Linked DNA regions of Homo sapiens: region 1 is linked to region 2. The links are contacts of gene promoters, found by promoter capture Hi-C in blood cells and fetal thymus (Javierre and others, 2016). All regions are on one chromosome and are shown on one strand. Each heading gives the region's core, a stretch centred on a gene start or on the middle of the fragment in contact. The rest is flanking DNA. Distances are from core to core; before and after follow the strand shown. Region 1 has its middle 4.4 kb from the start of RDH13. Region 2 holds the start of UBE2S (ubiquitin conjugating enzyme E2 S).

Region 1 (6,584 bases), core at 2,095-4,594, 340 kb after region 2:
TGGCGTGCGCTTGTAGTCCCAGCTACTAGGGAGACTGAGGCAGGAGAATCACTTGAACCCGGGAGGCAGAGGTTGCAGCGAGCCATTGCGCCATGCACTCCAGGCTGGGTGACTGACTGAGATTCTGACTCAAAAAAAAAAAAAAATCCTATGACAAGGAGAAAGGTCAGATTCCCTGGCAATGGGAGCTGAGGCATGTTCTTGAGAAGGAGGGAGGTTATAAATTAGATGGGGCTGGGTCTCAGAGAGATATAGCTACTTACATATTAAATAATGAGGCTGAGTGTGGCGTCTCACACCTATAGTCCCAGTACTTTGGGAAGCAGAGGCAGGAGGATCCCTTGAGCCTAGGAGTTTGAAACCAGCCTGGGCAACATAGGGAGATTCCATCCCTACCAAAAAAAAAATTAAAAATTAGCCAGGCATAGTGGCCTGCATCTGTGGTCCTAGCTGCTTGGGAGGCTGAGGTGGGAGGATTGCTTGAACCTGGGAGGTCAAGGTACAGTGAGCCACGATTGCACCACTGCACTCCAGCCTGGGTGACAGAGCAAGACCTTGTCTCAAAAAAAGTAATTAATTTATTTATTCAATACGTAGCTCCTGAGACAAAATGTGTGCCGTACTCTAGACCCTGCTGGTGTGCACAATTCATGGGGGATATGTGCGCTAATGGAAGTGTGGCACAGGGCAAGGGTGTCCCCAGAGAAAGCCCTAATCCAGCTTTATGGGTGGTTGTATGAGGCACAGAAGCCTTTCCTGGTTAAGGGATAAATGGATGGGGTTTCAAAGGATGAATAGGAGTTTGCCAAGGACAATGAAGCAAAGATTGACATTCTAAGCATTGGGAGTGTCCTATGCAAAATCCCAAAGTGATGTAGTAGCAAATACTTAAGCACCTACAGTGTGCCAAGCATGTTTCATGTGCTGGAGATACAGAGGAGGAGGAGACAGATGAAACCCCAGCCCTTGTGATATTGTCATCCTAGTAGGTGTGGTGGGGAGATAAACAAGTAGACACCTGCATGAATAAGACTTTCAGATTGTGGTAAACCCTGTGGAGGAAACGAAACAGGTGAAGGAACGGCGTGACTAGGAGCAGGCAGGTGCGGCTGCTTCAGGTAGGGTGGTCAGGGAAGGAGGCGGCATCTGAGCTTTGACCTCAATTTCGAGAATGAGCCAGGAATGCAGAGAGGATTTCAGGCAGAGGAAACCTTAGGGAGGCTGGCGGGTTAAATCTGCAGGGGTGTGGCTGGCCGGAGGAAGTGAGGTGTGAGACAGTCACGTTGATGGTGACAGCAGCAGTGACCGTAGCAGCCTAGAGGTGGCCGAATGCTTACTCTAATGGGCTGGCCCATCCCTGAGTGTCTAGAGTTCCCAGCCCGCTTAAGGAAGGAAGGAAAACACAGGCAGCTCTAAGTGTACGACGAGGGAGGTCTCATCGGCGGTGAGGAAGCCCAGGCGGGTCCCCTTCCCAGCTGAAAGGGGTTCGGGTAGGTTTTTCCTGGGCGTTCCTCTGAGAACAGCCAGCCCTGGTGAGAGTGCGGGGAGAGGCGCTTATGACACAGGGAGGGTGGGTCTGGGAACCAGCCTGGCAGGAGGAGGAGGGAGACTGCCGGTGGCCGGGAGCTGTTTGTTCTCTGGGAGGGATCGTGGCGGGGTGGTTTGTGCAGCCCTTTCCTGAAACCGGAGGAGCCTGGCTCCTTCCCAGGTCTCTGGGGGATGGGTCGGGGCGGGGGGTGGTGACGGGGATAGGACCCCAGACAGACTTGAGTTTGGATCCTGGGTTGGAGCCGGTGACTTCACTCTCAGCTCCCTGAACATCAGGGCCTGCCTTTCTTCCCTCCCTTCCCCTCCCCTCCCCTCCCCTTCCTTCCTTCCTTCCTTCCTTCCTTCCTTCCTTCCTTCCTTCCTTCCCTTCCTTTCCCTTCCCTCCCTCCCTTTATTCTTTTCTTTTTTTCTTTTCTTTTCTTTCTTTCTTGACAGAGTCTTGCTCTGTCGCCCAGGCTGGAGTGCAGTGGCGCGATCTCGGCTCACTGCAAGCTCCGCCTCCCGGGTTCACGCCATTCTCCTGCCTCAGCCTCCCGAGTAGCTGGGACTACAGGCACCCGCCACCGTGCCTGGCTAATTTTTTTGTATTTTTAATAGAGACGGGGTTTCACTGTGTTAGCCAGGATGGTCTCGATCTCCTGACCTCGTGATCTGCATGCCTCGGCCTCCCAAAGTGCTGGGATTACAGGCCTGAGCCACAGTGCCCGGCCTCCTCTTTCTTTTTTTGAGACAGAATCTCACTCTGTCACCCAGGCTGGAGTGCAGAGGTGTGGTCTCGGCTCACTGCAACTTCCGCCTCCCAGGCTCAAGCGATTCTCCTGCCTCAGCCTTCCGAGTAGCTGGGACTACAGGCGCGTGCCACCATGCCCAGCTAATTTTTTGGTACTTGTAGTAGAGACAGGGTTTCACCATGTTGGCCAGGCTGGTTTCAAACCCCTAATCTCCAGTGATCTGCCTGCCTTGGCCTCTCAAAGTGCTGGGATTAAAGGCGTGAGCTACCGTGCCAGGCCGTGGAGTAGCTAAACTTATCTTACACTGCTGAGGTCTCTCAAGATGTGTGTAGGGAGAGAGAGTTGGGGGGAGAGAGAGAGACAAAGGAAAAGAGGAAGAGAGAGACAGGGAGAAAGAGAGGAAGAAAGAGAAAGAGAGAAACAGGAAGAGTGAGAGGAGAAAGAGAGGAAGGGGGAGAGAAAGAGAGATGGGGGAGAAAGAGAGAGAGAGAAGGAGACACAGGAGGGGGAGAGAAAGAGGGAGAGAGCAATGAGAGAGATATGAGACAGAGAAGAGAGAGAGAGGAGACACGGAGGAGGGGGACAGAAAGAGGGAGACAGAGAGATGAGAGAGAGAAAAGACACAGATGAGGGGGAGAGAAAGAGGGAGAGAGAGATGAGAGAGAGATTGATAGCACCCAGCTAATCAATCAGTGGCTTTAGTGCCATGAGCTGGAAGGGAGGAATGGATACTGGGGAACAGTTGGTTGACTTTCCCTGGTGGGACAGCCCCTCTTTCTAGAACTACCTTTCCTATGTCCCCTGTGCTTCTCTCCAGTCCATACTCTACATCTCAGCCAGAAAAGAAGAAATTCTAAAACATGTATCTGCCCGTGACATGACCCTCCTTGGCTCAACACTCTTCAGCGGTACCCAGCGCCCTCTGAGTCAACGCCAAGCTTCCTACCATGGCATTGGAGCCGCGCTCTGGGTCCTTTTACTGATGGCTCCCGCCTCAGCCCTTCCACCCCCTCCCATACCCTGCATGCCAGCCCAGGCAGCCCTCCCTCCTCCCACAATATCTCTCATATGCATTCCTGTCCCATGCCTTCTGCTTAAGCTGTTCCCACAGCCCGGAGTCTCCTCCCTGGCTGAGGGAAATCTTGCCGGCTCACATGGCCGTGATCCCCATCATTTCCTGCAGAAAGCTTGCCCAGCTCTCCGACACGGGGACCTTCTGCCCCTCCTGAGCCCTGAGTCCCCTCCATCTTAACTGGGAGGTCACCTGTTTGCGTGGTGTCTGCTCAGCTTGCAGGCAAGGCCACCAACACCCTCCTTTCCTGTCTTTCCTTCCTACCATCCTCTCCTGTCCACCCTCTGCCTCTCCCTCCCTTCTTCTCTTCTTTCCTTCTAGTTACTGAGCCATGCATGTGTTGCATGCAGCAAGGATGAATAAAATAAAATAAACCTACAGCAATCATTCCAGTTACTATGGCCATATAACAAATTATTCTAAAACTCAGTGGCTTCAGACAAGGATCATATCTATTTTACTCAAAAACCTACCATCTGCACAGGCCTTGGTGGAGGCAGCTTATCTGTGTGCCCTTTGGTGATGGCTGGGGCTGTCAAGAAGCTGGGGCAGTGCTTGGGCTGCAAAGACTCAAATGGCTGGAGTCTGGGACCACTGGAGCTCCTTGCCCCCCTTTGCTTATCTCTACACAGCCACAGGGTCGCTAAACTTACCTTACACTGCTGAGGCCTCTTAAGATGTGTGTAGGGAAAGAGAGTTGGGGGGAGAGGGAGAGAGAGAACAGAGAGAGAGAGACACACACAAGAAGAGAGAGAGGAAGAAAGAAGGAGAGAGAGGAAGAGGAAGGGAGAGGAAGAGAGAGAGAAAGAGAAAGAGGGAGAGAGAGAGGAGAGAAAGAGACAAGAAGAGAGGAAGAAAAAAGAGGAAGAGAGGGATAGAGGAAGACAGAAGGAGGGAGAGGGAGAGAGGAAGAGAGAGGAAAGAGAAAGGAAGGGAAAGAGAGATGTGAGAGAGAGGGAGAGAGAGAGAGAAAAGAGGACAGAGGAAGAGAGAGAGGAAGAGAGAGGGAGAGAGAGGGAGAGAAGACAGAGAGGGAGAGAGGAAGAGAAAAGGAGACAGAGAGAGGAGAGATAGAGAAGAACGAGAAAGGAGAGACAGAATGTGAATGAGAATTGGGTGCCATAAACCCTCTGATGGGGAAAGCAAAGGGCATTGTGGGAGAATCCTCTCAGCACCTGGGACAGCACCCAGTGCTGATCAGGAACATGTTAACAACCAGGAAAATGGTAAAGGCGTGGACAGCCCACCTGGAGTCCAAACAGATGTTCTAACTCCCTTGGGTGTGTCTGGGAATCAGGTAGGAGATCCTCAGAGGAGGAATATGCATGCATTGTTCTCTTTATAATAACCATATTAACAGCCAGCAATGTTCTGGCACTTACTATGGATTAAGTCCTTGTTATGAATGACTTCATGCCATCCTTCCAAATTCAATGACAGGTAGCTGGGCGCAGTGGCTCACGCTTTGTAATCCCAGCACTTTGGGAGGCTGAGGCAGGTGGATCACCTGAAGCCTGGAGTTCAAAACCAGCCTGGCCAACATGGTGAAACCCCGTCTCTACTAAAAATACAAAAATCAGCCAGGTGTGGCGGCGAGCGCCTGTAATCCCAGCTACTCATGAGGCTGAGGCAGGAGAATCGCTTGAACCCAGGAGGCAGAGGTTGCAGTGAGCTGAGATTGCATCACTGCGCTCCAGCCTGGGCATCGGAGAGAGACTCTCAAACAGGAGCTGGCGAACTGTGGCGCACTGCTTATTTTTATAAATAAAGTTTTATGGGAACACAGCTGTGCTCACTTGTTTTCACATCATCTGTGGCTGCTTCCCAGCTCCTCTGGCAGAGGAGGTGCAACAGCCACTGTGTGGATCACAAAGCTGAAATTATTTACTATCTGGCTGTTTGTAGAAAAAGTTTGCTGATCTCTGTCCTGGAAGTCAATGATATTAGGATTTCAGTTTACAGAAAAGGAGAAAAAGACAGGGAAAAACAGTGTTGTTTTTTTTTCAAGGTTGAGAAAATGAACATCTGAACCAATTGCCCATGTTATTAAATGTAAACATTTATTATTATTATTTTTGAGATGGGGTCTTGCTCTGTCACCCAGCCTGGGGTGCAGTGGCACAATCACAGCTCATCATAGCCTTGACCTCCTGGGCTCAAGCAGACCTCCCACCTCAGCCTCCCAAGTAGCTGAGGGTGCAGATGCGTGCCACCAAACCTGCTAATTTTTGTATTTTTTGTAGAGATAAGGTTTTGCCGTGTTGTCCAGGCCGCTCTCAAACTCCTGGGCTCATACTATTCTCCACTTTGGCCTCCCAAAGTGCTGGGATTACAGGCATGAGCCACCATGCCCAGTCTAAAATTTTTCTTTATTTTTAGTTTGGTAAACTATGCATAAAGTAAAATGTACCATCTTAACCATTTTAAGTGTACAATTCAGTGATGTTAAGTATATTCACATTGTTGTGCAACCATCACCACCGTCCACCTTCAGGTCTTTTTTTTATTTTGCAAAACAAACTCTGTATCTATTAAAAAACAGCTTCCCGGCCGGGTGCGGTGGCTCATGCCTGTAATCCCAGCACTTTGGGTGGCCGAGGCAGGTGGATCACCTGAGGTCAGGAGTTTGAGACCAACCTGGCCAACATGGTGAAACCCCGTCTCTACTAAAAATACAAAAATTAGCCGGGTGTGGTGACACGTGCCTGTAGCCCCAGCTACTCGGGAGGCTGAGGCAGGAGAATCGCTTGAACCTAGGAGGCAGAGGTTGCAGTGAGCTGAGATCGCCCACTGCTCTCCAGCCTGGGTGACACAGTGAGACTGTCTCTCAAAAAACAAAACAAAACAAACAAACAAACAAAAACAAATCCTGTGACTTCCCAATCTCATCTCCAGCCCCCTGCAGCCACCACTCTGTTTTCTGTCTCTATGAATTTGACTCCTCCAAGTGCCTCTTATACAGCATTTGGCATTGTGTAACTGGTTTAATACGTTTGAGATGGTGAGAGCTTAAGGTCTACAGGCCTAAGGTTTTTTTTTTTTTGACAGAATTTCACTCTGTCGCCAGGCTGGAATGCAGTAGGGCAATCTCGGCTCACTGCAACCTCCACCTCCCGAGTTCAAGTGATGCTCCTGCTTCGGCCTCCTGAGTAGCTGGGACTACAGGTGAGTGCCACCACATCCAGCTAATTTTTGTATTTTTAGTAGAGACAGGGTTTCACCATGTTGGCCAG
Region 2 (6,844 bases), core at 3,677-6,176:
CACACCACTGCACTCCAGCCCAGGTGACAGTGCGAGATTCAGTCTAAAAAAAAAAAAAAGAATAATGGCCATCCAAGTTGCTGAGAATGCCATTATTTCATTCTGTTTTCTGTTTTATGGCTGAGTAGTATTCCATGGTGTATATATACCATATTTTCTGTATCCACTCATTGGGTGATGATGGGCATTTAGGTTGGTTCCGTATTTTTGCAATTGCAAATTGTGCTTCTATAAACATGCATGTGTATGTGTCTTTTGCATATGATTTCTTTTCCTCTGGGTAGATACCCAGTAGTGGGATTGCTGGATCGAATGGTAGATCTACTTTCAGTTCTTTAAGGAATCTCCACACTGGTTTCCATAGTGGTTGTACTAGTTTACATTCCCACCAACAGTGTAAAAGTGTTCCCTTTTTACCACATCCATGCCAACATCTATTTTTTTTTTTTTTTAATTATGGCCATTCTTGCAGGAGTAAGGTATTATCTCATTGTGGTTTTAATTTGCATTTCCCTGATAATGAGTGATGCTGAGCAGTTTTCATATGTTTGTTGGCTGTTTGCAATATCTTCTTTTGAAAGAATTGTCCATTCATGTCCTTTGCCTACTTTTTCATTGGATCATTTTTTTTCTTGCTGATTTGTTAGAGCTCCTTGTAAATTCTGGATATTAGTCCTTTGTCAGATGTATAGCTTGCAAATATTAAAATAATGGCAAAAACCTCGATTTATTTTGCACCAACCTTAATATAAGGTGAGCGATGAGGATCCAGTTTCATTTTTCTACATGTGGCTTGCCAGTTTCCCCAGCACCATTTATCGGGTAGGGTGTCCTTTCCCCATTTTATGTTTTTGTATGCTTTGTTGAAGATCAGTTGATTATTGTGGCATGAGAGCAGAGGAAAAACATGGTTAACAGAGAGTATTCCCTACCTACCACAACATGTAGTTCCTTCTAAAATACCATGTTTTCCTTATTTATTATGTTTCATTTTTGGTTCTGTCTTCCTCAACTACAGTAAGCCCTTTGTCTATCTGTTATCTGATGCATCCCAAGGACAAAGATCTTTGTCTATCTGATCTCTGATAAATCCCAAGCACCCAGATTGGTGCCTGGCACATAGTAGGTGCTCAATAAATATTGGTTGAATGTATAACATCTTCAGTCTGTCTGGCGCCCTGCTAGGGACTGAGGACAAGATCCCTGCTCTGCTGGGGCTAATCTTCTAGTTGGGAAGAGTCAAACACACAATCAGGCAAATAATTGCAAATCCTGATAGATCATGAAGTTCAAAGAGGATGAAGCAAAGAGAGCATGGGAGGGGAGGAAAGAGGAGAGAAGCTGCCGTGAAGGGGTGACGAGTTAGGGTAAACCTAGGAGATGAGAAGAAGGAAAGGGGAAAAGCACGACCGGCACAGAGAACTGCCTGTCCAACTGTCCTCAGGGTAAAAAGCTTGGCGTATTCCAGGAACAAACAGAAAAAGGCAAGGAAGCCTCAGGAGATGGTGCAAGGGCTTATGGGTTTTTGGGGAGTCTGGGGCTTATGCAAAATGTAGTGGGGAGGAGGACTCTTGAGTTTTCAGCTGGGGTGGGGCACGTGGGATATGTGTAAAGCAGGGAGCAAACTATAGCTCAGGGGCCTACTTTGGCCACTGCCTGTTTTTGGAAACACACCCATTAGTTTTCTTAGGAGCTACAAGGGCAGAGTTTAGTGAGTTGGACCAGAGACCAATGGACCACAGCATTGGAAAACCTTTTTGGAAAAGGTCTGCCTTCCCGGTTTTCAGGTGATTATTTAGGGTACAGGTGATCCCTCCCGCTCCCTCACCCCAAGTCCAATCTATACCAGTTGCTGTTGACATCATCTCATCACTTCCCCCATTCCTAATGCCACCAATCCTGCTTGGAGCCACCATCATCCCACCTGAACAAAGGTAATCACCTCCTCATTGGCCTCCCTGTTTCTGTTCATAAGTCTGAAGGAGTCATTCTCTGCTCAAAGCCACCAATGGCTCCCCATTGCTCAAAAAACAGACATACTTTTCACCATGGCCTAGGAGGCCCACCAGCAGCCCCTCACCTCTCCCACCTCAGAGCCCTCTACTTGCTCTGCCTCACTCCAATCCAGCCTCGCTGGCCTCCTAATGTTCCCTAAAAGCACCAAGCACAATCTTCTTGACACCTGCTGTTCCCTTTGCTCAAAATGCTTTTCCCATAGACCTTCCAACAGCCCAAATGACCTTTCCTCAGACAGATTCTCCCTGCCCAGCCAAGGTAAAATGGCAGCCCCATCCCTCCCTCTCAAACCTCCCCCTCCCACTAATTGTTCCTGTCTTTATCACTTGCTGATTGTTCTTCAGTCTTTATCACTTGCTGACATGATGGTATAGACTTACTTGCTATCTGGCTCCCGCACCAGGATGTAAGATCCATGAAAGTCGAGGCTTTGTCCCTTTTATTCTCTGCTGTATCCCATAGCATCCTGACAGCTAGAGTGTAGACACTAATAAAGAAGAACAAATGTATTGAATAAATGCAGGTATCCAGAGGGGATCATAATAATTAATAATATCCACCCATTATGGTTGTTACAAGGATTAAATGACATCAAGCATGTAAAGAAACTAGAACAGGGTCTGGCACACAGCAAATAATACATAATAACCATTAGTATTATCATCATTATTGTTATGTCTTTTGGGTGGATTTTTAAGATCAAGACGAATTTAGCCACTAGCTTTGCCTTGTCCCAGCTGGGGAACCCCGAGCAAGTCACTTTACCTCCTGCTCCTTCAGCTTCCTTGTCTGTTAATTGGGTTGGAATCCTCCACACCCAGCAGGCTAAAATTGAAGATCAGCAAAATGCTTATCGGCAAAATGGGATGACGTTGACTCTAAGCAGGACTGGTGGCATAGCGGATGGGGGGACGTGATGAGATTCAGTAGATGACGTCAACAGGAACTGGTATAGATTGGACCTGGGGTGAGGGAGCAGGAAGGGATCACCTGAAGCCATTTCTCCACAAACTAGTTATGATGATGACTTTTTATGCTGTAGCTGTTTCTTCAGTTGTTTTGGGTTTGTTTGTTTTGTACATATTGGTGGGGGTCTCTCACTATGTTGCCCAGGCTGGTCTTGAACTCCTGGGCTCAAGTGATCGACCTACCTTGGCCTCCCAAAGTGCTGGGATTATGGGCGTAGTCACTGTACCCGACCATGTAGGTTTTGTTTTTTGGTTTTTTTTTTTTTTTTGCTTTTTTGTTTTTTGAGACAGGGTCTTGCTCTGTTGCCCAGGCTGGGGTGCAGTGGCGAGATCTCAGTTCACTGCAACCTCCACATCCCGGCTTTAACCGATTCTCCCATCTCAGCCTCACGAGTAGCTGGGATTACAGGGCTGCATCAACACACCTGGCTAATTTTTGTATTTTTAGTACAGATGGGGTTTCACCATGTTGGCCAGGCTGGTCTCAAACTCCTGACCTCAGGTGATCTGCCAGCTTCAGCCTCCCAAAGTGCTGGGATTACAGGCGTGAGCTACCACGCCTGGCCTTGGCCATGTAGATTTCTTTCACACCTTCCTTATTCCTTCTTCAGAAGCTGAGGCCCCATGAGGGGAAGCTGGTAGCCAGGGGTCTTTTCAGGTACCTGTGGCCAAATTAGGCCCAGATGTTAATGCTCTCATCCATGGCTGAAAAAGGCCAAGAAACTAAGAAGAGCTGTGGACGCACAGACTGGCAGAGACACCGAGAGGGCACTGCGACCGCACTGCACAGATGAGCAAAGGAAGGCCAACTTCAGCATTCCCTCCTCCTCTCTAAGCCCCTCCAAAAGGCCTGCTCAGGGAGCTCTGGCCACCGTTCTCAAGCAATTGCCTGACGTTTTTACTGACACTGAGGGCTGGAGATGGTCCCTTTTCCAGGCAGCTATGTGTCCATTTCCTAGAGAGGGAAACTGAGTCCCAGAGAAGGCGGGTGTGGCTGGAGGCCATGGGTCAGTCATAGGCATAACCATGCCGTGAATAACCGTCTTGGCACTCTCTGACTTCTTTCCCTGGCAATACAACGGATCCCAGTGCCCATTTGTCACATAAGGAAACTGAGGCTGGCGTCTTCGATGAAGCCTGGCAGGAGTGGGGGTCACACACGGAGTGCAAGGCTGTCCAAGCCTTCAAGGTCATTCTGACTGATCTTTGAGCCTTAGCAATACAGGACGTGGGTCCAAGAGCATTTCCAGCACAAAATGGCGCCTCATAGAAAAATGTAGTCGGAGTTCCAGCGCCCACCTCCACCACGGCTCAAAGGAGGGGGCGCGGGCGGCAGCGCACACTTCATTTGCATATACAAAAATCAACGGATTTCGTTGGCTGGCAGCGGTTTGATCTGCACGAAACTGGGTCGCCCTCTGACCGGTCTCTATCAGTCATTGGCCCATGCGAGTCTCGTGACCCACCAGTCACTAAAGCGCATCCCTATTGGCCCGAGCGCCTTCCATCACGCGTTTAAAACCCCGAGTCCCGCCTCCCCTCGCCACGCTCCGGCCCCCAGGAAGACCGTTAGTCGCGTGCGCGACTTCCTCAGCGTCAGGGCGCGCCCGCGCGTATGCCGGGCCGTGGCGGCGTCTCATTCAAACGGTCCAATCAGCGGCCGCGTCGCCTTCCCCGTCCCCCTTCCTCTCTTCTTCCCCTTTTCAGCCCCTCCGTTCTTTGAGAACCCTCCCGACCCCCGCGGGCCCCCATTGGCCGGCCCGCTACCCAGCCCTCTCCGCCACTTCCCTCGCTTCTGACCATAGTTTGCGGGGAAGGGAGCGAGCGCGTCGAAAACCAAGGAACGTGCGCGCTGACGTCACGGTTGAGGCTCGGAGCTGAGGGGCCGCGGAGGGCGTGGCCTGCGGGCGGTTATAAAGAGGCAGTGGTGCGCGCGCGGCCGGCTCAGTGCTGCCGGGCACCGGGGCGGCGGGTTGGTCTACGCTGTGCGCGGCGGACGTCGGAGGCAGCGGGGAGCGGAGCGGGGCCGCCGGGGCCTCTCCAGGGCCGCAGCGGCAGCAGTTGGGCCCCCCGCCCCGGCCGGCGGACCGAAGAACGCAGGAAGGGGGCCGGGGGGACCCGCCCCCGGCCGGCCGCAGCCATGGTGAGCACGGGCGATGAGGCCCATGAAGGTGGTCGGGGGTGTCCCTGAGGGAGGAGGTGGAGTCTCAGGGGCCTCCGACGGGCGGCCTTGAGGGGTTTGAGGGCCAGCCTGGGGGTCCCTGACCCGGGATGGGCCCGAGGGCCTTCCCGCAGGCGGAGCAGGAGCTCGGGCGGCCCGCAGTCTCCCTGGCGGCGAGGGCTCCGGGCGCTTTGCGGCCCGCCCATGGGTGTTACCAGGAGCAAGGACGCCCCGCCGCCATCTCCAGACCTGAGCCGGGGTTTCAAGGATGCTCTAACCAAAAATTAGTGGAGAAGGGGGAGAGAGTAGATCTCTGGCCTACGTGGAACCACTGGGGACCAAGCAGGGTTAGGAGCGGGCTTTGGGGGGGGGGTTCTGGGGTGGGTGGAGTTATCTGCAAGCCCCCCCGTGAACCCGCCCCCATTTCTGTTGGAAACTCTGCCTGGGCTGATGGCCTGAAGCATCCTGGGTGAGGGTCTGGGAGTTCAAGGGTGATTGACAGCCTGGGGCCACTGAGTCAAGACTTGGGCAGTCTCAGCATCTTTAGGCCCTGCGGGAAGCCCAGCTCTTAACACTCGCTCACCCTGCTCTCCCATCCGTGCCCAGAACTCCAACGTGGAGAACCTACCCCCGCACATCATCCGCCTGGTGTACAAGGAGGTGACGACACTGACCGCAGACCCACCCGATGGCATCAAGGTCTTTCCCAACGAGGAGGACCTCACCGACCTCCAGGTCACCATCGAGGGCCCTGGTGAGTTTGGAAGGAAAAAGAGAAGGGGCTGCTGCTTAGATCCTCCATCACCCTGCTCTAGATCACCCTAGCGGGAAGTACCCATTACAGGCTGGCCTCGTGTCAGGTGTTGGGATGCATTGGTGGACAGGGCAGGACGCCACAAATGACAATTATGTACTCTTTTCCCACAAGGGTTGAGAAATATCTGGTCATTGAGTTAGTATATCATGGGACGGTACTCTAGATTTGAAGCAAGGCTTTCAGACATGGCTTCCCTGGACCTGAGGGTGGGTAGGAATTAAGTAGGAATGGGAAGAGAGCTCCAGGTGGTGGGAATGGTGTCAGCAAGGGCCTGGGAGGGTGGGCCAGGTGATCTCAAACTCCATCCTGCTGTGAGTGTCAGGGATGAGGAAACAAGCCAGATGCAGATCGTGGGGAGACGGGTCATGAATGATTTGCGGGTCACATGATTTGCGGAGTGATTTAGAATACTGTTTCATGCAGGCTACATTTCTGTTATCACCAGAATTCCTACAAAGTCAGGATTTGAGCAGAGCCTGTGAAGGAATGGTCTAGTCCACGGTGGTGATGGTGGTAGGTGGTCAGGAAAGACCTGGCAGCGGTGACAGTTGAGGTCCTTCATGCCTTGCTGCAGAGGGCGCGGGATCATGACAATAGGAAGGCTCCAGAAAGGCCCTTGGGCAGGTGGAGCTGGGCGCTTGGTAAAAACACATGAAGAAAGTTGATGATGAAGCTGCCAAGCTCTTTTAGGGCTTCTAGGCCTCTTCAAGGAGTTTGTAGAGGAAGCTGGTGGAAGGTTTAAAGCAGGGGTGTGACAAATCCCTCCAAAGTTCCTATTGACTGTAGTGAGGAGAGCCGGCCTGGCAGGGGGAAGAACCCAGAGGCCAGCCAGGAAGCTAGCCTTGGAGATGGGATGAGATTCAGGGGAGGACCTAGCAGGCC

What was found. The method cuts DNA at HindIII sites, captures the fragments that hold promoters and counts their contacts. A CHiCAGO score of 5 or more calls a contact.
Region 1: a fragment that was not itself captured here is called in contact with the fragment with the promoter of UBE2S in region 2 in 6 of 17 cell types (non-activated CD4 T cells, erythroblasts, activated CD4 T cells and 3 more); the score reaches 8.8 in non-activated CD4 T cells.

The regions. Positions count from the first base shown.
Region 1 is chr19:55,064,228-55,070,811 of GRCh38, reverse strand. It overlaps a transcript of RDH13 not described here. Among named protein-coding and RNA genes, the nearest start is that of RDH13, 4.4 kb to the right of the region's middle. RefSeq lists a silencer at 4,454-4,654. The HindIII fragment of the contact is 249 bases long and covers 3,220-3,468 here.
Region 2 is chr19:55,405,870-55,412,713 of GRCh38, reverse strand. UBE2S (ubiquitin conjugating enzyme E2 S) reads left to right here and starts at 4,926. Exons shown (of 4, transcript NM_014501.3): 1 at 4,926-5,127; 2 at 5,752-5,899. The coding sequence starts at 5,125. LOC105372462 (a long non-coding RNA gene) reads right to left here and starts at 4,569. Exons shown (of 3, transcript XR_936075.3): 1 at 2,782-4,569; 2 at 2,397-2,503. RefSeq lists enhancers at 4,168-4,277, 4,299-4,593, 4,950-5,463 and silencers at 4,698-4,747, 4,758-4,817, 4,828-5,297. The HindIII fragment of the contact is 9,685 bases long and covers 1,456-6,844 here.